Regions from separate parts of the Homo sapiens genome. Here all the other regions are linked to region 1. Evidence: promoter capture Hi-C in 16 types of primary human blood cells and fetal thymus (Javierre and others, 2016). All regions are on one chromosome and are shown on one strand. Each heading gives the region's core, a stretch centred on a gene start or on the middle of the fragment in contact. The rest is flanking DNA. Distances are from core to core; before and after follow the strand shown.

What was found. Contacts are between HindIII fragments. The CHiCAGO score rates a contact against its expected background, and 5 or more counts as called.
Region 2: a fragment that was not itself captured here is called in contact with the fragment with the promoter of BCL11A in region 1 in 1 of 17 cell types (endothelial precursors); the score reaches 5.7 in endothelial precursors.
Region 3: a fragment that was not itself captured here is called in contact with the fragment with the promoter of BCL11A in region 1 in 2 of 17 cell types (megakaryocytes and M1 macrophages); the score reaches 6.1 in megakaryocytes.
Region 4: a fragment that was not itself captured here is called in contact with the fragment with the promoter of BCL11A in region 1 in 1 of 17 cell types (megakaryocytes); the score reaches 6.1 in megakaryocytes.
Region 5: a fragment that was not itself captured here is called in contact with the fragment with the promoter of BCL11A in region 1 in 2 of 17 cell types (endothelial precursors and megakaryocytes); the score reaches 10.9 in endothelial precursors.
Region 6: a contact is called between a fragment that was not itself captured here and the fragment with the promoter of BCL11A in region 1, in 1 of 17 cell types (naive B cells). The highest score is 5.1, in naive B cells.
Region 7: a fragment that was not itself captured here is called in contact with the fragment with the promoter of BCL11A in region 1 in 1 of 17 cell types (megakaryocytes); the score reaches 5.3 in megakaryocytes.

The regions. Positions count from the first base shown.
Region 1 is chr2:60,551,904-60,555,246 of GRCh38, forward strand. It overlaps BCL11A (BCL11 transcription factor A), which reads right to left and starts at 1,751. Exons shown (of 4, transcript NM_022893.4): 1 at 1,313-1,751. The coding sequence starts at 1,367. RefSeq lists silencers at 462-821, 2,231-2,320, 3,261-3,343 and an enhancer at 3,011-3,060. The HindIII fragment of the contact is 6,342 bases long and covers 1-3,343 here.
Region 2 is chr2:58,570,046-58,573,388 of GRCh38, forward strand. All of the region lies in intron 1 of LINC01122 (long intergenic non-protein coding RNA 1122), which reads left to right. Among named protein-coding and RNA genes, the nearest start is that of LINC01122, 51 kb to the left of the region's middle. RefSeq lists an enhancer at 2,549-3,343. The HindIII fragment of the contact is 1,461 bases long and covers 804-2,264 here.
Region 3 is chr2:58,878,188-58,881,530 of GRCh38, forward strand. All of the region lies in intron 3 of LINC01122 (long intergenic non-protein coding RNA 1122), which reads left to right. Among named protein-coding and RNA genes, the nearest start is that of LINC01793, 340 kb to the right of the region's middle. The HindIII fragment of the contact is 3,843 bases long and covers 1-3,343 here.
Region 4 is chr2:58,904,634-58,907,976 of GRCh38, forward strand. The region is part of intron 3 of LINC01122 (long intergenic non-protein coding RNA 1122); the gene reads left to right. Among named protein-coding and RNA genes, the nearest start is that of LINC01793, 310 kb to the right of the region's middle. The HindIII fragment of the contact is 5,186 bases long and covers 1-3,343 here.
Region 5 is chr2:58,971,120-58,974,462 of GRCh38, forward strand. The region is part of intron 6 of LINC01122 (long intergenic non-protein coding RNA 1122); the gene reads left to right. Among named protein-coding and RNA genes, the nearest start is that of LINC01793, 240 kb to the right of the region's middle. RefSeq lists an enhancer at 651-2,275. The HindIII fragment of the contact is 1,904 bases long and covers 615-2,518 here.
Region 6 is chr2:59,021,118-59,024,460 of GRCh38, forward strand. It overlaps LINC01122 (long intergenic non-protein coding RNA 1122), which reads left to right. Exons shown (of 14, transcript NR_033873.1): 10 at 1,839-1,865. Among named protein-coding and RNA genes, the nearest start is that of LINC01793, 190 kb to the right of the region's middle. The HindIII fragment of the contact is 2,453 bases long and covers 339-2,791 here.
Region 7 is chr2:59,323,219-59,326,561 of GRCh38, forward strand. All of the region lies in intron 2 of LOC105374754 (a long non-coding RNA gene), which reads right to left. Among named protein-coding and RNA genes, the nearest start is that of LINC01793, 110 kb to the left of the region's middle. The HindIII fragment of the contact is 6,474 bases long and covers 1-3,343 here.

The DNA.
Region 1 (3,343 bases), core at 501-3,000:
GTTTGTTGGCAGGAGGCTCCCGCACACGCGGTGCTTGTAAACATTCAGACACGAGATTTTTCCCAATCAAAATCCACTTCCACTTTTTTTGAAAATCTTCCAAAAAATAGTAAGAGGAGGGAGTTCCTCTCTCCCTCTCCGTGCCGTCGGCGCCCTAAGTTTGCAACTGAAGGGGTTTGGGGGAAGAGGGTGATTGTAAATTTTTTTCTAGATGAGAGATTGTGAGATTTTTGCAGGGGGGCTGGTGGGGGAGTCAAAGAGAAGGCCGTCACAGAAAAGGGTTGGCAGAGCGTTTGGCTTCGGTTTGGGGGCAAGAAATTGTACATTCTCTTGCCTTGTTTTATTTATTTTATTTTTATGTATTTATTTATTTATGTGCCAGTCTTCTCCTTGCTGCCTCTGAGGTTCGGTCGGGAGGGGAGGGCAGCGGCAACCCAGGAGGCAGCAGTCCGGGCTCCCTCCCTCCCTCTCCCGCGTGCCCCCGGCCGCCTCCTCCCCCGGCCCTAGCTCCTGCCCTTCGGCGGCGGCGGCGGCGGCGGCGCGGGAGGGCAAGCGCGAGGAGCCGGCACAAAAGGCAGCGGGACAAACACCCACCTCTGGCCGGAACAAAAGGCGGCAGTGCCGGCCGCGTCTCCCGTCCTTCCCGGTCCCACGGCTCTCCCCGTCGCCGCGGCCCCTCTCCCGACTCCGCGGACTCAGGAGCGCCGGGGGCCCCTTTCCACAGTGCCACTTTCTCACTATTGTGGGGATGACTACTTTCCTCCCGCTGCACACTTGACCGTGAGCGCGCTGGTGTCCAAAAGCCAGTCTCACCTCTTTTCTCCCCGGGAATCGTTTTTTAGACTTGTACTCACTCCCTCCCTACCCCCCCATTTTCTTACGGTGAGTGGGAAGCAACCTCCCTTTCCCCACCAGCTCCCACCCCCAGGTTTGCATGTGAGTTGTTCGCAACCTTAGCATTGTTCATTATTTTGCAAAACTGGCGGGGCGGGGGGGGAGTGGAATCATTGCATTCCTTTTCGAAAAGAGAAATAAAGCGGCGGAAAGGAGGAAAGAGGAGGAGTCAAATTTTTGTAAAATTAAATAAAATTAAAAGGTGCGTGCTGTCTCAAAAGTGCATACACGGCAATGGTTCCAGATGGGATGAGGGTTTTTTCCCCCTTTATCTCTTTTACCTCGACTCTCGGAGGTTTTTCTCGTGAAAAATTTAAAAATGCATGCACACACCCCTCTCTCCCCCTCGCTTTTGCTTCTAGTCCTGCGCGCTCTCGTGATTATTAATAATTATTATTACTATTATTGGGTTACTTACGCGAGAATTCCCGTTTGCTTAAGTGCTGGGGTTTGCCTTGCTTGCGGCGAGACATGGTGGGCTGCGGGGCGGGCGGCGGCGGCGGCGGCGGCGGCGGCGGGCGGACGACGGCTCGGTTCACATCGGGAGAGCCGGGTTAGAAAGAAGGAGACTCCAGAGAAAATATCTTCATCAGTGCCTTTTGACATCCAAAATAAATTAGAAATAATACAAAGATGGCGCAGGGAAGATGAATTGTGGGAGAGCCGTCATGGCTTTTTTTTAAGCAAAAAAAAAAAAAAAAAAAAAAAAAAAAAGAGGGAGAGAGAGAGAAGAGAGATAGAGGGAGAGAGAGAGAGAGAGATGAAAAAAATGGCAAAAGCCCCCCTGAGCTGCAAGTTCAAGTGCGGACGTGACGTCCCTGCGAACTTGAACGTCAGGAGTCTGGATGGACAGAGACACACAAAACATGGGCAGGGCGAGCAGGAGAGAAGGGGAGGAGGGAAGGGGAAGCTCACACCAATGGACACACATCAGGGGCTGGACATGAAAAAGAGACCAGGACAAGCCAATGGCCAGTGCGGGGAGGGGGAGGTGCGGGGCGGGGGGCTCCGCGGACGCCAGACGCGGCCCCCGGGGGAGGGGCGGGCCGAGGGGAGGGGGCGCTGGGGCCGCGGGCTCACCAGTGGCCGCAGCGAGCGCCGCGGCGGTGGCGTGGCCGGGAGAGAAGAAAGGGGTGGCAGGGGTGGGAGGAAAGGGTGGGGGGGAGCAAGACGTGCGCCCTGCTCCCCCCCACACACGCGGACTCTAAAATGAAAGATTATTCAAAAAAGAAAAAAATAGAGCGAGAGTGCACCGGGAGGCTGCAGCCCCGGGCTGGGGAAGCGCGGGCGGAGGGAAGCCAGGTAGAGTTGCTCCCGGACACCCTCCTCCGTACGCACACCCACTTCCCCTCCCCGCCGCCGCCGCGCTCGCTCCCCGCGTGTGGACGCCAGGGGCCGAAGTAAAAGCCCCGAGCCCGCGGCTGCGCTCGGGAAACTTTGCCCGAGGAGAGGACAGCAAAGAAAAATCACCCGAAGTTGAGAGCTGAGCCTCCAAGTTACAGCTCCGCAGCGGGCGAGGGGAGGTGGGAGGGAGCGCACGGCAACGCGGAATCCAGCCTAAGTTTGGAGGGCTGCGGGTCCGGAAGGGCAGCGCCCAAGTCTCCAGGAGCCCGCGCGGCCTGGAAAGAGGGGACCGGGGAGAGGCAGGCGGCGCAGGCCGGGGCCCGAGGGCGCCCCCAAGGCCGAGCCAGGGACCGGGAATCTGAGCGCCCCGCCAAGCGACTGGGTCTGAATGCAACTGAAAGCGCCGAGTCCCCGGCTCCTAAGGGTCGCAGAAAGAGAGCCCGAGGAATAAAGAACGAGGAGCCAGAGTCTGGCCCCCGGAGGGGAGCGCCGGGGGCCTGGGCAAGAGAGGCACCGAGGCGTCCACCTCTCTGAGAGGCCGAGGACAAAGCGCGGGCAGTCCCGGGAGTCCCAGTCCCTGGGAATGTGCTCACGGCGCCGCGGGAGGTCCCCGAGCCGGGTCCCTGGGAGGGACACACCCCCTCCCACTCCAGAGCAACTGCAAAAGCACAGAGGGATGGGAAGAAAATGTTTCTTACGGGCAGAGCACAACTGTTCCTGTGCTGTTACCCAGGGAAAGAGAAAATGGGAATGGAGAGAGAGCGACAGGCTCGCAGGAGCAGCGGGGAGACCACGGTGGTGAGATGACCGCCTCGGGTCACCGCCGCGCTCCCCAGGCGCCGCCGGCCAAGGCGCACACCCAGGAGCCAGCAGCCCCCTCTCGCCTTTCTGCAGACGTTCCCTGGAAATTAGGGAAGACCTGTTGGAAATAAAACCCTGTCTCTTTAATGCACACACGCACACACACGCGCGTGCTGCCGCTGTCAAAAAGCGGGCTTCACTCTGGCGTGGGATACTTTCAGTTTTACGTAAAATGTACAGCAACAGCACCCCCTGCGATTGGAAAGTTTATTCAGAAACGTGCCTGTAAAGTCCCCTGGCGCCT
Region 2 (3,343 bases), core at 284-2,783, 2.0 Mb before region 1:
GGATGAAAAATCAACGACAGAAGAGCCCTTGGGTCCACAGTCACACTTTTCCCGGGGACTGTAGGAGCTGCCTGGGACACCCTCTCCTTTCAGAAGATGTGTCCCTAACTTGGAGGGTGCCCATATTACAGTCAGGCTTCCCATGTCTAGCCACAGATGACATATTCATGTCTATCAGGCTCCTCTTAAAGAATTTTATGCTTAGAAACATCAGTGACCCAAAACGGGCTGGGTGCAGAACTTCTTTGGCAGCTTGGCCACATGGCTCTGAGGAAGTCATGAAATCACTTTGAACAATGCATTCCTTAAATAAGAATGTGAATTAGGTGGTCTCTCAGGACCCTTGGCCTCTAAAGTTGTATGATTCTGTGAAGGTCAGACCTTGCATAAATTCCAGTACAACCCTCTCAGATGCAGCAAGAAAAAGTAGTTTATATTGCCATAATATATGCTGCAAAATTTAATAGAATGATGGACCGCTTCCTGAAAACAGTTGAGCAAAAGCGTTATGCTACAAAAAACTATATATGATGGTTTCCTTAGAACTGTGGTCAGTATTGGGGCAGATTTGGGTAATTACAACAGCCAAACATAGTAATGACATTCTGAGACATTTATACTTTTGAGATGACAGTGGATAAAACTCATTGTAATACTTCATAATTTTAGTAATATTTTAACACAGAAGCCTAGTCCACAGATATCCTGGGACACACACCTATGCACACACACAATTTATTTACCTAGATGGAAAGGAAGTCACATATAATTTGTATGGGAACTTTCAAAGGCGCTTACACTAAAGCTTTTCTAAGCCACTTTTAAATTATATCTTCATTACACAAATGGAATATTGCTCAAAGAACCGCTGACTGAGAGAAGTGGCAAGCAGTCTTCCCAGACTTTATTCAGTATTCACATCCAATCACATGGGTAAACATAAATACATCACAATGCTTATTCAAACACTCACAAGTTATCTATAGAAGACAAACTACCATATATTCTCCGAAACAGATTTTTCTTCCATTTCCCTTTTTCATTTTGCATCTAGTGTATTGACTGAAATTCATCTGGTTTTTTGTTTTTTCTTTTCTTGAAGCAAATTATAGGCCCCTCCTGGCTCCACCTATAATTTTTCACATTTTCTTGAGACAAACTACAACACATTGACACGAAGTTACTGGCAAACAGAAATTCTAGAAAGTATCCAAAAGGGGTTAGGAGTCTGACACTTGGCCTCCTGACCTGAGGGGAAAGTAGATTTCCGTCGAGGCTGCAGTCTTGGGACTTCCGCCTTGAGGAGCCAATCTTGGCCCTCATGTTCCGGATAGCAGGAAAGGAAGGGATATACCTGCGAGTGGTTTTTGTGCTAGTACAGACACTAGGGGGTGTCCAAGGACCAAATGTATTCCTCCTTCCCTTCAGCCTTGTCTTAGGTCCAGCTAACTTAAAAAGTGCAGGAGCTAAGGGAAAATCCATCCAATTAATTCCTGTCTTGTGCCGAAATAAATAATGTGGGGTCAGTTTCATCATCAGGCCCCGATTCCCTTGGATCTCTGGCAGCCTTTGTAATCTCAGGGTTCAGAGCTGGCACCATCCCGTATTTAAGCTACAGGTGATGAGAATGAGGTGCTCTGTTATCAAATGCTTTTTACTTCTGTGTGTGTCAGAATTTACTTGTTGTTGAAAAGAGGTCACCAATTTTCCTTTTCTTTAGTGTTTCAGTTTAGGTCTGTTCACACTAAACTATGAAGGGCGGGGGGGAATTGTAAGAAGGCAGATTTCTGCCTTCTCATTCTTGTGGGGTCCCATTTGCTTTTTATTGTGGATTATTTGTTAATTATTACTTATTAGAAAACATTGGCCCTTGCTACTGTAGACATCTTCAGGCCTTTGGGCATGGGTCTCTTTATGAATACCTATTACTTCTTAATTATGATGGTTTAATAAGATACGTCTTTCATTTTCATCTCCTATCTCTCTTCCCCTATGATTCTTCTCCTTTTGCTATTGGTCCCTGAGGGCATGTTACTGGCTCCTTTTTCTTTATTGCTCCCATCTTCCCTTTGCCCCTCCTGGTAAATTAAAAAAATAAATAGAATGCATTTTAAGGATGACAACAGTAATAATAAAGCCAGGAATTGCTTTCCAGCTAAATGCACTGATTGGAAGTCCTATTGAAAATAGCATAAACCTAATTGAAGTAGTCAACCCCTCCCATATAGGTCATGCTATGCTCTATTAAAATGAAGGTAAAACAAAGCTTGTGACATTTCTGCATTTCCCAGACTGACTTTTCCTAAGACATATCGATAGTATTGACAATAGTATTGCATTGTGCTCCCTAGTGACCCAGCCTGTCATCTTGTGGTCCTGGATAATTCTTTCTTAATGAAACCTTATTGTGTCCTTTACCTATAACAATCAACAGAAAAATAATTATGTTTCAACATATAGAAATAAAAAATTTGAAATAAATCAAAATTGTAGCAATTAACTAACCAGTAACACTGATCATTTGGATAATGTGGATGTTCAGTACCCGCCAATTGTGGCCTGTTAAAGATGCAAATACGTTTTCTAAATTTATGAAAATACACAAGTTGCTAAAGAAATGTCTGATGTGAAATTATCAGGAGAGTTGGGATTATATATAAGGAGTTATTATTTGATTTCATTTTGAATAATTTAAGTAGTCTGTCTTCAAGAGTCATTATTTGGTCCTAAGCTTTATTACTGAAGTTTCTTATATTCCATGGAACTGACTATCAGATTTGATGGCAAAGCACTAGCAGCTGGGAAACTGCTCTTTCTCTCCCCTCTCATTTCCCAAACAATGTTTGCACTGATTAATACTATGCAACAAGACATGACGCAGAGATTGTGTTGGCATTGTGTTCTGATGACCCCACACATTGTGTGCGCTCTGTGGTTCCTTTTGCTGTTCATAGTTATATGGGTTTATCAGAAATTACATGTCAGGCTCCCGATGAGTGTAATTGTATACTGATTGTGTATAGTTTTTTAAACCTCATTATTAGCCTTGTATGCAAACCAAATAAAAGGAAAGTTTAAAAAAGGAGAAAGAAAATAGCCTCCACTGGACGTCATGTCAGAGCCCAGGTGTTTGAGCCTGGATGCAGGGGGGAAACAAAATGTTCTCTCAGGGACATCTGCAGCAGCCATGTGCTTGAAAAAGGCCCTAATGAGTGGAGGGGGAAGGAAAGAAGTGGTTAGGGCATGGGGGGAGAGCTCCTGGCTTTGCTTTCTTCTAACTCTGTTCTCCTTGCATGCACGATTCATTTAATAACAAGGCAGGGAGGACACTGAGGGATGCAGT
Region 3 (3,343 bases), core at 454-2,953, 1.7 Mb before region 1:
TAGGTATAGAAAATTTCATTCTGCAAAATAAACACACTCACATTAGAATCAAATGTATAATCTTGGATTTGTTAGTACCACGTGTTACCTAACATGGCTGTCCAGCTCAGGTGATAAGAAATTACCTGAAAACAGTTTGATGCCTCCCTCACCACCCTGTATGTAAATTCAGTCATGTACAGTATAGCAGAAGATGCAAAAGTAGAATACATTGTTCAGAATTTGGGGCTTTTATGAAAATTAAAATTTGATGCAAACACTGGAGAAAGTGATTAATATTAATTCTCGTAGATATTTATTGATCCTAACTGTGCATATGGAACTACACTAGATGAGGCAGGGAATATGAGGATACATAAATAAGGGTCCCTTCCTTTGGGGAATCATAGACTAATTGGGAGACATAATGGAAAACGAAGGGCCACAAAATAAAAATTGAAAGTTACAAGAAAGTAAGTAAATATAATAAGTTACTATATCTGAATGGCTTAGAAATTTCTCTGAATTCAAGAGGTAAGGAAAGAGACAAGGAAGTAAAACATTTATTATGAAACTAAGCTGTTCCAGATGCTTTTTTATGTGTGTTTTATGTAATTATCACACCCGCCTTACAAGGCAGACATGATTATTTCCTTATTTTATGGATGAAGATGACAACTGATCCAAAAGAATGCCTGGCCTGCCAGAAGGTGAACAATCCTGGCTCCTCAGTGACTCCTACCATGGTTCACCTAAGTATGCAGGGGTAGATTTAGATTTTTGAAGCCAGGCCTTTAGTAAGAGTAATCAAGGAAGGCTTCCTGGAAGGGGTGTGCTGATCCAGACAGACAGTATGTGGGCAGGGAGAAATCAGGGTAATTCCTGGCAGAAATTGGCTTGAATAAAATGATGGAGAGATGACTCTGCACACATATTCAGTCAGAGAAGACTTAATGGTAATAGGACATTTATTTAGGGGAAGAGTTAGAAACAATGGTAGAAAGTGTGAAGCTAAGTCTGCATGAATATGAACTAATGATGGTGAAGTGAACCATAGTGCACACTCAAACAAATCACCAATCTTTCAATCATATTGCTATATTCAATCTACAACATAGTATCAATAATATTTAAACCCTATATTAGATTTATAAAAATTGTATTTTATATTAATATTTACAGGTCACATTAAGAAATCAGCTCTTCTTCTCCCTATTATCAATTAATATTTATTGAATTGTTCTTTGATGTAAATATGCTGTGTCAACCCCAAAGTTTCCTACTATCTTATCATCATGGTCATCATTGGCTTTACCTGAGTACAGTCAAGTAAATAAATCACTGTGGGTCCAGATGTATGGGTTGCATTCTGCTGGGGTTTCCAAGGGCACTAGAAATGAAGAATAGCAGGTGCACAAGCATCTCTCTGGGACATCCATAACTTTCTAAAAATCCCCTTTGTCTGACTTTATAATATCACATTCTAAAATATTCAGGTTGCTTTTGTTGTTCTCTCCATAAAAAATTAATGGTCATGAAAGTATTATCATGTTTATTTTAAAGCAACTATTTTCCACATTTTAATTAAAAGTTGTAATTCACCATCTTTTGACCAAGTTATCTTAAATCTTCATCTTATTGGTAATGGGCATTGGGCTAGATTCAGAAAGAAATACAAGTGTGACAATGCAAATAGTAAAATCTCAGCATTTCGAGAGATATGGTTCTGTTCATTTCATGTGCTGTACTAACTCTGCCTTTTTAATTAGAAATATTCTCCCTGCTTATGCAAGAATACTGGGAAAGGGGCATTGTCTTATTCATTATGTATTCCACAAGAATCATAAGTGGACAAAACCAGGCATAATATGATGACTGTTGTGTTATTAAAGCACTTTAATAAGGTTACTCCCTCAGTAGAGTGAGCTTCTCAAATACCCGTTTCTTTTCAAGAGATGAGCTACACGGAGCAAGATGTATGTTGCTCCTCTGTGCACACGTGAGGATGATTTCTGTCTGTATTTTACAGATCTTCATGGCTATCCTACCAGGACTAGTTCTTTTTTAGTTCCCTGTCCTACCTCAGGGATTGATGTCCTAGAAAGTATTGGATATTCTATTTTAGTCCTATGGTATATAACAGGAAATAGTTTGAACTAATGATATATTGAAGAAAGGTCTGTAAACAAAGATTCACTACATCTAGGCATTTCTATGCAATGCGGTGCTGCTATATTTACCTCTTTGTCTACCCTGCCCTCCAACTAGAAAACATTTTAATTAGTATTTCAATCTCTAATCATTTTCATTAAAACAAAATCTTTCATAGTACTGAAGTGTTCTTTAAGAAAGAAAATGGAAAGAGTGAGGAAGGGTGGGAGGCAGGGAAGGAGGAAGGAAGAAGGAGAGGAAAGAGGAGAAGGAGGCCGGGTGCAGAGGCCCATGCCTGTAATCCCAGCACTTTGGGAGGCCGAGGAGGGCAGATCACGAGGTCAGGAGTTTGACACAAGCCTGGCCAATATGGTGAAACCCCGTCTCTACTAAAAATACAAAAATTAGCTGGATGTTGTGGCGGGTGCCTGTAATCCCAGCTACTCAGGAGGCTGAGGCAAGAGAATCATTTGAACCCTGGAGGTGGAGGTTGCAGTGAGCAAGATTGTGCCATTGCACTCCAGCCTGGGCAACAGGGCAAGACTCTCTCTCTCTCTCTCTCTCTCTCTGTCTCTCTCTCTCTCTCTCTCTCACACACACACACACACACACACACACAAAGAGGATAAGGAAGGTGAAAAGGAAGGTTTTTTTTTTAAAGGCCTACCCAATGGCAGCAGAGCAAAGACTTATCTATATGCATTACTTTGATTTCAAATTATTTTTAGCATGGCTTTTATTGTACTCATTGTTACATACATAAATCTTTAAAGTAATACGTTTTGTAAGAAATGGTCATAAAAATTTACAGCCAGTAACTTTTCCCCTGTCCCTTACAATGATATTCTACTAAAACCATTAAATGGTTCTCATTAATGCCCTTTAAATGATTGTGTAATGACCCACAATCGCTTGTAAGTGAACAACCATTAAAGAATTACCAGTTCTTAGCATGCTTTTAAGTACAGCTTAAATACATGGGAGGTAACATATAATATATTAGAAAAAGTATTAAATTCGAAATAGTAAAAACATGATCATCACAAAAGAATGAGTAGGTGTGCAACTTTACCCTGCAATGACCACAGTTCCTACTGAACACATTATTATAGTAGATTTTTACAGCATTTGTGCTTTTTCCTTATTGAATCTTTTCCCTTTTTTTCTGGGATTAAAAATAATAATAATAATAAAACCCTGACACAACAGGAGA
Region 4 (3,343 bases), core at 617-3,116, 1.6 Mb before region 1:
TCCAGTCTTGCCCACAGAACACCTTCTCCCTTTCCTGTTTTATTTTTTTCTCTCTTTAGCATCTCTCACGTTCTCATATGCTACATAATTGTTGTTTTGTTCATGTTTTGTTTACTCTCTCTTTTCCACAAGAATATATGCCACATGAGGGCAAGGATTTTGCTCTTTTATCTTGGTAGCCTTTTCCCCAGGGCCTAGAAGAGTGCCTGGAATTTGTAGGAGCTTAATGGTGAAGAAATAAAATTATATTATGGTTGCTTTCCCCACTAATTTCTAGGACCTGAGAGTTTACATATTTTATTGAAAGTTGTCAATAAAATGCTTTTTTTGGAGAGTCGATACACCTACAGACATAGAGGTCCTAATTAGCATCTAAAAATTTTACGTAGCCCATCGTTTATGAAAACCAAAGTAAACTCCCACTTGTCCAGAATAATGCATTTTCTCCTGGGATGAGAAGCCTGAAGGTTGCCTCTGCCTATTTCATGAAAAGGAATAAAATGTAGAACTATCTCTTCCATCTATAATTTTTTTCCCACCCTATTATTGGTAACTTCTAAGATTATAATGTCAATCTGAGATATTGTGTAATGGATAGTAATTAAAGGCTTAAATCTTGACTCAAACAATGAAGTAATGCTGCTCTGAAAGGGGAAAGAAAAACTAAGGTCCATCTCTTCCAAATCTCTCGATGTGGAAGTGCTTGTTTGTAAATTGTCAACTCTGTGTGTATGTGTATGTATTTCTTCTTAAATGATGATTATTTTGGGCAAGTGAAGAGCTTTGATTGTGTCATCTGTGCATAAAATTAGTATGAAAGTAATGAGTTTTTTTTGGTGATTCACTGAATTGTCAGGTGCTAGTTAAATGGCTAAGGCAAAGTCAAGTGACAAAGATTTTCTTAAATCTTTGTTTCAAAGTAATGTAATGGAAACACAGATAAATTTCAATATGATTGTGTTAAAGAAACATTTAGCAAGACAGCAAATAGATGTGTGTGGGTCAAATGGGAGGATGGGTAACTTTAGTACAGGGAAATATAAAATAGTGCATATTCAAGATCATGGACAGTTTAATCATATACATATAAACAGGGACAACCCAGTTTATTTGTTGACTTACTGCTTTTATATTTTATCCTGGAACTCTACTCTATTTTGTTTAATTGACAATGGTTTCTATTTCCCTCTCCTTGAGTAACTATTTTTCATTCCCGAGTTTGGGGGTGGGAAGAGGCTTAAAATATCAGTAAGACAAATGGGAAGAAAGGCGAAACTATCTTTGTCTGCAGGTTATATAACCTGTGTTTATTATGTTTATAAGGGATGAAGATATAGCCACTATAGTATCCAGAAAAAGAGAATCATATTGGTTGGTTCCCATGTGTAGGAAGCATTTCAGGCTGAGCACAGTGAACTTACTAGAGTGCTATCCTCAGCTGATGGAAGCTGAGCTTATGTTGTAAGCAGTGCATATTATTGTATAAAATTTACTGCAAAGGGGAGTGATATGAATAGAGAATGTATACAGTAGCTTACTGCGTGCTAGCAGGTCTTTTCTGGGCTCCTAAATGTTAACTGGATAGTAATGTAAGTTATTACACTCATTAAATTAGGCCACAAACAAGTCAACAGTGATTCAGCAAAATGGCTTTGTTTGTATAGTGCAAGGAAGTCTGATAGATATCCAGTCACACATTTATGGCTAAATGGATGAAGATTTTAACATTACAGCCTAATAAAAACCCCATACTGTGTGATTAAATAAGAGGGAAAGCAGTAAAAAAGAGAACGCGTAATGACGGTAACATGTAGGTCAGTTACAATTTAATTGTCATTGCACTTCATTGCTAACATATCAATTCTCTGCTGCTTAGCTGAGCAGAAAACAACAACTTAACATGTACACTGGGCCCACTGACGAGTCGTCAAACCCCCACTTCCATCACCTGCTTTTGACTACTTCCTTAACAACCACGTGAAGTCTTCCTGCTTTAATAGGATAATCTTGCTGAAAGCTCCTGCTGATTGTTTCTTCCTATGCTCAATGCATCAGTGATCAGTAAATTTACTTCACACTCTACATAGATGCTAAAATTAGATTGTTTGCATTACAACTTTCAATACTTCTGCAACAAGAAACACCTGCCTGCAGATTTATATTGTTTTGTTTAATGGTTTAAAATAAAGATAGCCTCACAGTGGCGATACCTTGATGTACTATATCGGAGGCACACAATGGCTGATCATTTTTCTTACTTATCCAGTTTGTACTGTATTTCTTGCCATATAAGGTATAGCTTCATTATCATTAATTGCAGCTTTAGAAAAACCGAGGAAGTATTTATTCTTGCCAACTTTGCTGCAATTTTACTTATTCAATGCAACTAAGAAATGAGGGGGGTAGAAAAGCGCAGTATATTTAACATTTTTTTCCCTGAATCTGGATAATTCACACAGATCTCAAAGAGGCTTTGGCACCTTTTTAAAATGTTAGCTCTAGAGAATTGTCTGCCTAGCATACTTATGGTGATCTATAGTAAAGACTTAACCGAGTACATAACCAAACTATTAATTCAGGTGCCTAAGGTGACATATTTTATCCAGCTTAGCGTAGTCTATTCCATATAGAATAGAGCACAGCTCTTGGTATAAAAAATGATCTAGCAGAAGCTAGATAATTTTATTAGAATGATTAGAAACATCAACATTTTTTTCTCATTTCAAATCTCATTTTAATTCAGATTTCTGGGAATCAGGCCCATAGATTCCAAATGTTTCAAGTATGTTCTACTGGTAGATTTTCTTCCCTTTGCACCTCATTTTACCTATTTAGATGGAATCATGTGTCATCTAAGGGCAAGAATAAGGTCCTATAGTTCAAGATCATGGACAAGCAGAGCAAAATCCCCAGGAACAAATTCTATCTCTAGAATGATATCTAGAGGCAGTCTCCAAGCAATGAGAGTTATTAGTGATTTGGGAAGAGTCTCGTGGTTACCTCTAAGACTGGCAGCTTATGAATCTCCAATTCTGATTTAAGGGTCAGTAATTGATAGATACTAATCCAGGATTTTAATCATTAAGAAAACATTTATAAGAAAAAAGGGATGAACACAAGGAAGGCATGCTTCTTCTTTATGCACTATGGATGGAAATTCTTTCTTTGAGTTCAACCAGGGAAAGACCGAAGTAGTACAGTACTTTTGGTTTCCATGGTGCTACTTATAAAGATTATGCAAAGTGTTTAATGAATAAGTAACTCCTCTTAACACTTTGTGGATGAGACACTTAAGAGATTTGGACAAAAATAACAATATGAATAAAAAGTTATATGTGGTGGT
Region 5 (3,343 bases), core at 317-2,816, 1.6 Mb before region 1:
CTCGGATCTCAGAAAAATAACTTTCCTCAGTTCTTATATCAGGTAGGAGGACATGCAAAGGCAAAAACGAACAAACAAACAAAAAAACCCATTTGGTCTTAGAATGCATTTATGTACATTTTCTTGTATTTAATAATGTTTTATTCATAATCATTTCATATGCTTTTCTTTTTTCAAATGTCTGCCTGCAGCACACGTCAGGATGCTGAATTTATTAGTGTTTCCTCTTCTCTGGTGCCCGCTCTCCTTGGAACCACATTATCGTGGGTCCATATGATTATTCCCTTAGGACTATCCACTTGAGAGTAATGCAATGGCCTCCACCTCCCAGCCTTTAGGACCGAAGTGATGGAGTTAAAGAATCGAACTTTCTCTTGAAAGCCAGTGGCAGCCCCACATCCACGTTAGGTTTGAGGGGTGGCTCTCCTCCCTGACTGGCTAGTAGGTGAGGTCCTTGGTATGTTCATGCCTTCTTACCTGAAGCCTCTCCCTCATTTTAATTCCAATTGATTTCACCTTAGTTGTGCTCAGATTTTGTGGGTTTGTTCAAACTGCTCTTGGGAGTAACACAAAAGTATTAACATTTTGCTGACTCCAGGACTTTAGAAAAGTTAAGCTTGAGTGAAAAACAAACTGACGGATTCAAATAATACAAACGCACCCAATTTCAAATCATATTCTCTCTTGCCTTGTCTCACAATGCTGGGCTGCCTCCCTTTACAACACAGCTGCAATCTCAACACTCCATTCCAACCCGCTCTGTGACAAAGCGTAAGGTTCCACCTCTGAGCAGGTAAAATATGTTTGTTAGGGAAGGACTGCTCGGCAGTAAGGATGACAACAATTAGCACATGCTACTCATTAACAAACGGAGATTAGAACGCAGCCGAAATGGCAAGCTGCCATCAGTGTGATAGTTACGGGGCAGTTTAATTTCTAACGAATGTGAGTGCTGGATCAGTAACAATATTCGACAAAATGCCGCCTGCATTCTCTTATGGCTTTCATTACCAAATTGAAAATCTGTGTAGATTTCTGAAAATTACTTTTAAATGTAGCCAATCTCCTAGACTGCAAGGCTTGATTTGCTGGTGAGGGAGCCCTGCTGTGAGATTTTAATGAAAGATCATAGTGGCCCTCCAAGGCCAGCAAAGAGCTATGGGCCCTGGAAGACCCGAAATAATCTGTTTTACTTTTAATGGCAGCCATTTTATATTCATTAAGATCAAAATGCAGTTTTGCAGGCAAATTGCAAAGCTGTTCCACTCACAGCTTGAGAACCTGGAGGCCCTACAGCTTTTTATCTTGTTCATAAGCAAATATGCAGTTAATATCTTTTAATATGCTTTGATGCTTGGTACCTTATGGGTACATCGTACCGGAGGTTAGAGAACTGCATGTTTCCTTGGCACAGCCAGCCACGAACTAAAGCGGTAGTCCTTTTATTTCCATAATGGCAGAAGAAATGAGTCTCTCTTTTTTTATCCCCTCCCCATTTTTTAAAAAATATGAGCTCTGCTCAAATAGATTGTAAGGTGCTGTATAGTGTACATTCAGGGTCTCAGAGAAGGGGCAGTTTTTCACTGGGATCTGTCTGTTGGTGGTTCATATTATTTAAATTTATACAGTCACATTATTTAAATGTAAACAGCCAAATAAGATATGATCAAATCATTGGCATCTGGAAACTGTGCTCTCATCCTCTTTGATTGTGAGGTTGTCTGCATTAATAATGGAGTTCTAAAGACTGTGATTCCACCTGATATACTGTATGACCTTAACAGTTGTGATTTTATCAGGGTTTCACTGTAGTAGAAAATGAAGGTATTTTGCAGCTCATTTCCAGCAAACCTAGTTTGCATTATCTTCTGTCCAGAGTAGTCCTGCCTGTTTTGTGTTATAAAATATCACCTCCCCCATTGCCCCCTTTCTGCTGCACAGCTGTACTTCCGGTCTGGAACCATGTTGTAGATTAAATTCCATCAGATTTCTTGTAGAAGGTAAATGGTACTGTGTTTAATGACAAAAGAAGGAAGGAAGGAAGGTCAGGGAGGAAGGAAGGAAGAGAAGTCAGTAAGGTGGGGAGGAAGGAAGGGGGGAAAAAGAAAGGAAGGTGGGATTGAGAGGGGAGAGAAGGAAACACTGCACTTCCTCCTCCAATTCATCAATTTCTATCTCATCTCTAAGACAAGAAATAAGGTTGATGCAAGTGGATCTTATTACTCAACCCCCAACTCCATCTTAATTCTGCCTAAAGCAATAGGCAGGCGTTAGATATAATAGTCTAGAATCACAGGACTCTCCAATACTAACAAAAATAATATTTAAGGGGTACTTTTTGGTAGAAAAAGGACCAGCCAGGTCTATTTCAATTTGCCCAAAGATTTGGAGGCTAGGCCAACAACAAACAGAACTTTTGCTCCTTTACCCAAATTATCTTGGTTTTTGAATGCACCCAGGGCGTCAAAGTCAGTCTTAGAACCAGGGCGGGAATGGGAACCCTTTTTGGTGGGAGCAAAGCTTTCCATCACTATGCAGCATCAGATGAGGGTGTTGTGCTTTTTTTTTTTTTTTTTTTTATTTCACTCTATAGCCATTGAAATTTTAGCCCTCTTGAAGAGCACTGTAGGGCTAGCTAGTTTAAGAATGGGAGTTAGCTTCTTTATGCAAGTTAATACCCATTGTGCTGTCTCTAAAAAATAATGTACGTTAAGACAGCTCCACAGAAAGGCCAGCCTTTGTATCTCCAGGCCCGCCCAACCTTTGTACTTAACCGTGCCCACAGGCATATTATAATATTGTATGACATGTTTACAAGTCCTAACATCTTACTTTGTGCAACTGCATAGCTTCTTTGCAGGCTCAAGAATTCAAGCTTGGACTGTCTGATGAGGGAATTTGATAACCCCCTCTCCCTGGGTCTCAGAGCAAGGTGAAGGTGTCTGGCCTGCCAAGGCACAATTTAATGGTCTTCTGAAAACACTCAAAAGGCAGACATAAATGTGTGGATGGGCAGCCAGCCAGGCTGACCTGGGGGATGGGGCCAGTTGATTTTAAGCAGGGTGAGGTCGGGAAGGAATGTTTCAGACCAGAGCTGGCTGCGGGGGTTGGGGGTGGAGGCGGTCTCTGGAAGCCTGAGGGTTGACTGTAAAGGATTTACAGAGCTCGAACTCGACTCTGTAACCTAAGAGCTCAAGCATTCCCACCTGTCCAACTTTAAAAGGGAAATGGAAAATGTAAAGAACATATAATTAATTTCAATTACAAGCCTCACATATCTCAAGCCAGATAGGCACTGTCTTCATTTCCTGTCAGTTCAATGGGCTCCAATACAAAAGTCACG
Region 6 (3,343 bases), core at 315-2,814, 1.5 Mb before region 1:
TCTCGCTCTGTCACCAGGCTGGAGTTCAGTGGTGTGATCTTGGCTCACTGCAACATCCGCCTCCCGGGTTCAATGATTCTCCTGCCTCAGCCTCCCAAGTAGTTGGGACTACAGGCACGCACCACCACGCCCAGCTAATTTTTGTATTTTTGGTAGAGATGGGGTTTCACCATGTTGGCCCGAATGGTCTCCATCACTTGACATCATGATCCGCCCGTCTCAGCCTCCCAAAGTGCTGGGATTATAGGCGTGAGCCACTGCGCCTGGCCTTTTTTTTTTTTTTTTAACCTTATTTTAGATTCAAGGCCAATAAGAACTTTATACAATCTTCTGGACAAAGCTTGCTACATCCTAATCTCTGCAAATCCACTCTGTTCTATTCACCGCTCTCCTTATTAATCAGTTCTACAAAGCTGTACCCTTCTCAGTACTGTTACACACACTGCATTTTTATGTTTCTGTTTCAGAGTGGCCTTTTCTATATTTTTGCTTTGCCTTGCATTCAATTACCCATAGCTTGTCCTGTAGAATAGGATACTATCACTGCCTACATTTAGGCCACAGCACATTATGTCATCTGGAGTCATATATTTTACTTCTGCCTCTTTTAGGAGGAAACTCATTTGAGAAATCTTGGCTCTGCCTTTGGGGAGGAATCATTTACCTTCTTTCATCTGGGCTGAAATTTGCCTCCTCATTTCTTTTGTTAATAAAAAAAAGAAAACTTATTTACATCTTCTCAGATCCTATTAGTTAGCTCAATTGCCTAATTGTTGCAGTTTTAAGAAAGACCTAGTCATTTTCTTACTTTCCATCCTTGTTGGTCTATTTCTTGGGTTACACAATTCTACATTCATGTCTGCCTACTTTCTTTGAGAACCTTTTTCTGTTTCACTTTGCTGTGCAGCATCATGTGCATGGTTCATTTCCTTGCCACACATAGGAAATATGGCTAAACCATCCCACTACAAAAGAGTAGAGAGAAAGATAGTGGGCCTGGCAATATCGCCCATCACCTTGACCTCTCTGTCTGAGGATAGGGGCAGGCTGGAATCTGTGTTTCTGTATGAATTTGGCCTGATTTTTCTTCCCTTTTTTCTTCTCTAATGTCTTAATAGTTCCTTAGAATGAATTTCCGTACCTAAAATGGATCTCCCCCTTTCTCTCTTGACAACGCTGAGTGAACCAGGGTGTGAGATATTACCCATGCAGTCCACTCTCTGAGAGGTATCGCTGGATGAAGCCATGCTGCTCATCTGCCATTCTGTACCCAACTGTGGATAATAACGGAATTGATTTTACCTGAGGAAAGACAAAGGAACCTCGGGCTGCTTTTTGCATTATTTTGTTCTCAGGTTATTCTGCTCTGAATGGTGAGATCTCTCACTAGAATATTGGGTCACATTTAGCTTTCTTTATGGCAAATCCCCTGTGTGGGAACTTCTGGCAATGAGCTGTGAGGTGTTACTATTCTGTGTTTGTGTGTGTGTGTGTGTGTGTTGTCAAAGTATAACGAGTAAGTTTATGTTTTCAAGTCCTCTGAATGCTTTTTCTTTTTTAAATGTGTTTTTAAGAAAGCATATCTTAAGTTGGAGACTAAAACTTGGCTTTCAGATCCTCTGGATGGTGACTTTAAAGAAGTCTATTCTTGAATAAATTGTAATATGACCATAGATAAGCCAACCTACACATATTATAAGGGCAATAATGATAATAGCCATTATAAATTGAGTGCTTAGTACTTCTCATGCATGTTCTAATTGCCTCATGCTTATTAATTTACTAAATCCTTATAATAACTTCATTAGGCATACATTATTTTTATCTCTATTTTACAGATGCAGAAACTGAGGCACAGAGCAAGGGTAAGTAAATTGTTCAAGCCATATAAGTGGTAAGTGGCAGGTGGCCTTGGCTCCTAAATCTAGACTCTTAAATGGTGAACTTCTCTGCCTCATTGAGAGAAAAATCTACAATGTCTCGTATAGTAACCATCATGTGAGCAAGATGTTTTACAAATATTTTAAGGAAATGTTGATAAAATAATGTGTAATTATAAGTGATTTTATTTCTGTCACTCTGTGGTTTTTTAAACTATATTATCCCTTTATGTTAAAACAACCCAAGTTATCTTGAGTTATGTGGAGAATTCAGGAAAGTTAACATATAATGGTTGTCATCTTAAAAAAATCTGGTGTATTTGCTATATGAACCCTTGAGTTATTACTTTTATTTTAAATCTCTCTGTATTTTCTGTTGACTCTTATTGATACTTTTATTTAGGTGAGAAGGCATATACACCCACTGAGGCTGTCTCTGGAAAGTGTTGAAAGAGGGTCAGGTAGAAGTCTCAGTTTTTGCCTGTGCTTAAAATGTGTAACTAAGAGAAATGTATTCCAGGGATGGCCTTCATAGTTAAGTGTTTACAAAGAAAGATATTAAATATATAAGGACCCATGGTCACCCTAACTTTCTGAGCATTGTTAACTTTGGGTCTGATTCTCTTAGCTCACTGCCTCAGAGTTGCCATGGATGTGCTTGGTAGTCCTGTGTACACACAATGAATGTATTGGATGTCTTGGAATTTTGAAAGTTCAGGGAATATTGGATTTTATGTATTATATATTACCTATTACTTGCTGGAGTAGTTTGCTTCTGTTTCTTATAGAGTTAAGAATAGAATTACTATTCTGGTAGTCTTGCACAAGTATGACCCTTTAGATTATGTGAATAAGCATCAAATTGGTGGCAAGGATTTACAAATTAGTACAAGTTAACATAAGTATCATAAAGCTTTGTGGGACCCAAAAAGAGTTATTTATGTTCAGCTCTGGCTCTAACCAAGTCATCACCATTGGATCAATGCATCAGATCAAGAATAAGTAGAGCCCCAAAGTCACACCATCCTATCAAAATAATTATCTATAATTAATATAATTATTGATCATGTAGTAGAAGTCACTGCCTGATGATACAGGGCTTTTAGGATTTCATGGGAATGCTTCACAACCTAATTATGTTTCCCTGGGAGATTATAATATAATTCAATTAATTTTTCCCATGTGTTTCATCAATCATTATGTGGATAGAAGGAATATCAGAATCTCATTTCTATGTCAATTCCTGCAGAATGTAGACAAGTCATTTCAGTAGAACAGAGCTGATTAGAAGATAGGGTTCCTCCCACAGGAAAATTATACCCTATGCCACTTGTAATGCTGGTGCCACATTCTGTTGGTTTTGTAGTATGTGATGAGGATAGCTACAAAAATCTGTGATATCCCTGTTCCAGCTTATACACCAAAAAAACTGAGACCTGTATAAAATAATGTTCTTAGATATG
Region 7 (3,343 bases), core at 489-2,988, 1.2 Mb before region 1:
ACCTGCTTTCCTGGCATAAAAGCCACTTATTTATGAAGTACTATTTTTTACTGTTATTCTGAAATCTGTATGTTGATATTTTATTTAGTATCTATGCATTAATATTCATGAGTGGTTTTGGTCTGTAGTTTTCTTTCTTTATAAAATCATTTTTAGTTTTGGTGTTAATGTTACACTCACTACATATGAATACATAAATAAGAAGAATGTCAACGTATTGGAATTTTCCACTCCTTAAAGTTTCTTGTGAACATGTCTGGACCTAGTGCTTTTGGGATATGGGGCATGGACACATGTTGCACAGGAAAAAAGATAGATTTCATTTTTTGTTTTTACTTTTAAACAGCTTTGTTGAGATAAAATGTACATACCATGAGGTTCACCCACTTAATATGTACAATTCAATGATTTTTAGTGCATTTGCAGAGTTATGCAACCATCACCATAATCGTAATATTTTTAATATGCCCAAAGGAAAACACAAACCAAATAGCACTTACTCTAACTCCCCCATCCCCAGTTCTAGGTGACTACTAATCTCTTTTCTATCTCTGTAGATTTTCCTATTGGGACATTTTTAATAAAAGGTTTCATATAAGGCACGGTGTTTTGTGACTAGCTTCTTTCATAGCATAATGCTTTCATGGTTCATCCATGTTGTAGCATGTATCAATACTTCATTTTTTATATTGCCAAATAATATCCATTGTGTGGATATATCATGTTTTATTTATCCATTCATCAGTCGATGGGCATTTGGGTTGTTTCTACTTTTGGCTATCATGAATAATACTAATGTGAACATTTGTGTACAAGTTTTTCTGTAGACATATGTTTTTATTTTTCTTGGTTATATACCTAGGGCGGTGTAGAGAATTTGAAGAGCTTGGTGGAGGTTCAATGGGAATTTTAGAAGTTAAGATCCTTTGGGGAGAAATTAAGAGATTTAAAAATATTTAATATCAAAAAAATTTTAGAGGATACACAAAAAGATATCAGATGGATTACCTGGATTATATGATAACTCTATATTTAACATTTCAGACACTCGAAAACTGTTCTCCAAAGTAGCTGCACTACCTTATATTTCTTTTAGCAGTGTATATTTCTTTTAGCAATGTATTTCTTTCAGCAAAGTATATAAGGTATATGTTTACCTTATATTTCTTTTAGCAAAGTACCTGCACTACCTTATATTTCTTTTAGCAGTGTATACTTCCAATTTCTCACGTCCTCACCCATACTTGTTATTATTGCTTGTCATTTTGATTGGAGGTTTTGAAGTGGTATCTTGTTATGATTTGCTGTCTACCTAGTGACTAATGGTACTGAGCATCATTTTATGTGTATTCACAATTTGTATATCACCTCTAAAAATATCTATTTAAATATTTTGCCTATTTTTAATTGGATCATTTGTCTTTTTTAACAAATACTTTTTAAGTTCAGGGGTACAAGTGCAGGTTTGTTACATAGGTAAACTTGTGTCATGGGGGTTTGTTTTACAGATTATTTCATTACCCAGGAATTAAGCCTAGTACCCATTAGTTATTTTTCCTGATCTTCTCCCTCCTCCCACCTCCACCCTCCAAAAGGCTCCAGTGTGTGTTGTTTCTCTCTACGTGTCCATGTGTTCTTATCATTTAGCTCCCACTTATAAGTGAGAACGTGGTATTTGTTGATTTGTAAGAGTATTTTATATATTCTGCACACAAGTCCCTTATCAGATACATTATTTGCAAATATTTTCTCAGTACATAGGTTATCTTTTTACTTTCTTTTGAAGTCCTTTAAAGCAAAACATTTTTAATTTTGAGGAAGTTCCATTTGTCAGTCTTCTCTTTTATCACTTGTGCTTTTGGTGGCATATCTAAAAAGTCATTGCCAAACCCAACATACAAAGATTTACTCTCATATTTTCTTCTGAGTTTTATAGCTTTAGCTTTTATATGTAGGTCTATGATCTACTTTGAGTCCATTTTTGTGTATGATGTGATGCAGGGGTCCAAATTCATCTTCTACATGTGGATATTCATTTATCTCAGATATAAGTTTTTGTTAGATGTTGTTAATATTTAAATTATAAGAATGTATTCAGAAATATTTGGATAAATGAGCAGGAAAGAGAACCACCCTATTCACAGAAAATGCCGAGAATAAAATCCTTATTCTGTTGATATTTATAAGATAATAGATATAATCTGGTGATCCAGAAGTAGATTTTATAATTTTTTTCAAATTTCCAAACTATCTATGAAAGGAAGGGTTATCTGGTAATATAATTTTTAAAAAGCACTTACAATATGTCTGTACAATGAAAGAATCTATAGCTATTAAGAAAAATAGCTTGTCTCCACATGCATGAATATGGAAAGATTCCAAAATACATTAGGTAATAAAATTAAGTTACAGAAATGTATTTATATCTTATAAACATTTGTGTAAACACACACACACACACACATATCGACTGCAGGTAAATGTATAGAACATTTCTTGAAGGCTATATCCAAAATGATAGTCAAGAAATTGGCAAAATGTTTGCCCTAGATGGAATAGTGGGTGGTTGGGTGGTCAAAAGAGAGATGGAAACTTACTTTTCACTCAATGCCATTTTCTACCTTGTAAGTTTTGAGCAATGCGTATGTCTTACCTATTTAAAACTCAATAAAACTAATAAAAACAGCTTATTAACTTTACTAAATTTTACTAGAAAATGTCTTTCTCAAGTTGCCTGTAAAATATTGACTGTAGAACTCTAATATATTTCCTATTAAATAATATGACTATACAAATGATTCCACAAAAGTTACCAATCCAAATTCCTTGAACATGCTAACACTGCAGCCAGAACCCACTCGATATGAAACAACATTCAGAAATTACCCAGAAAGAACATATTATATGGTATTCTTCTTAAAGAGAATGTGGCACATTAGCATACATTACATTTGCTTATTCACAAATCTCAGAACATTCAAACAAAAAACTCTCCTTGAATTTTGAGAAAGGTATAACTACATGATACATAAGAAATTTATAGAGGCCAAGGAGTCATAAATCACGTTCTTTATGAAGAAGACATAGATGGGAAGGAGCCAAGATGGCCGAATAGGAACAGCTCCGGTCTACAGCTCCCAGTGTGAGTGACGCAGAAGACGGGTGATTTCTGCATTTCCAACTGAGGTACCGGGTTCATCTCACTGGGGTGTGCAAGACAGTGGGTGCAGGAGAGTGGGTGCAGCACACAGTGTGCAAGCCGAAGCAGGGCAAGGCATCACCTCACCCGAGAAGTGCACGGGGTCAGGGAATTCCCTTCCCTAGTCAAAGAAAGGGGTGACAG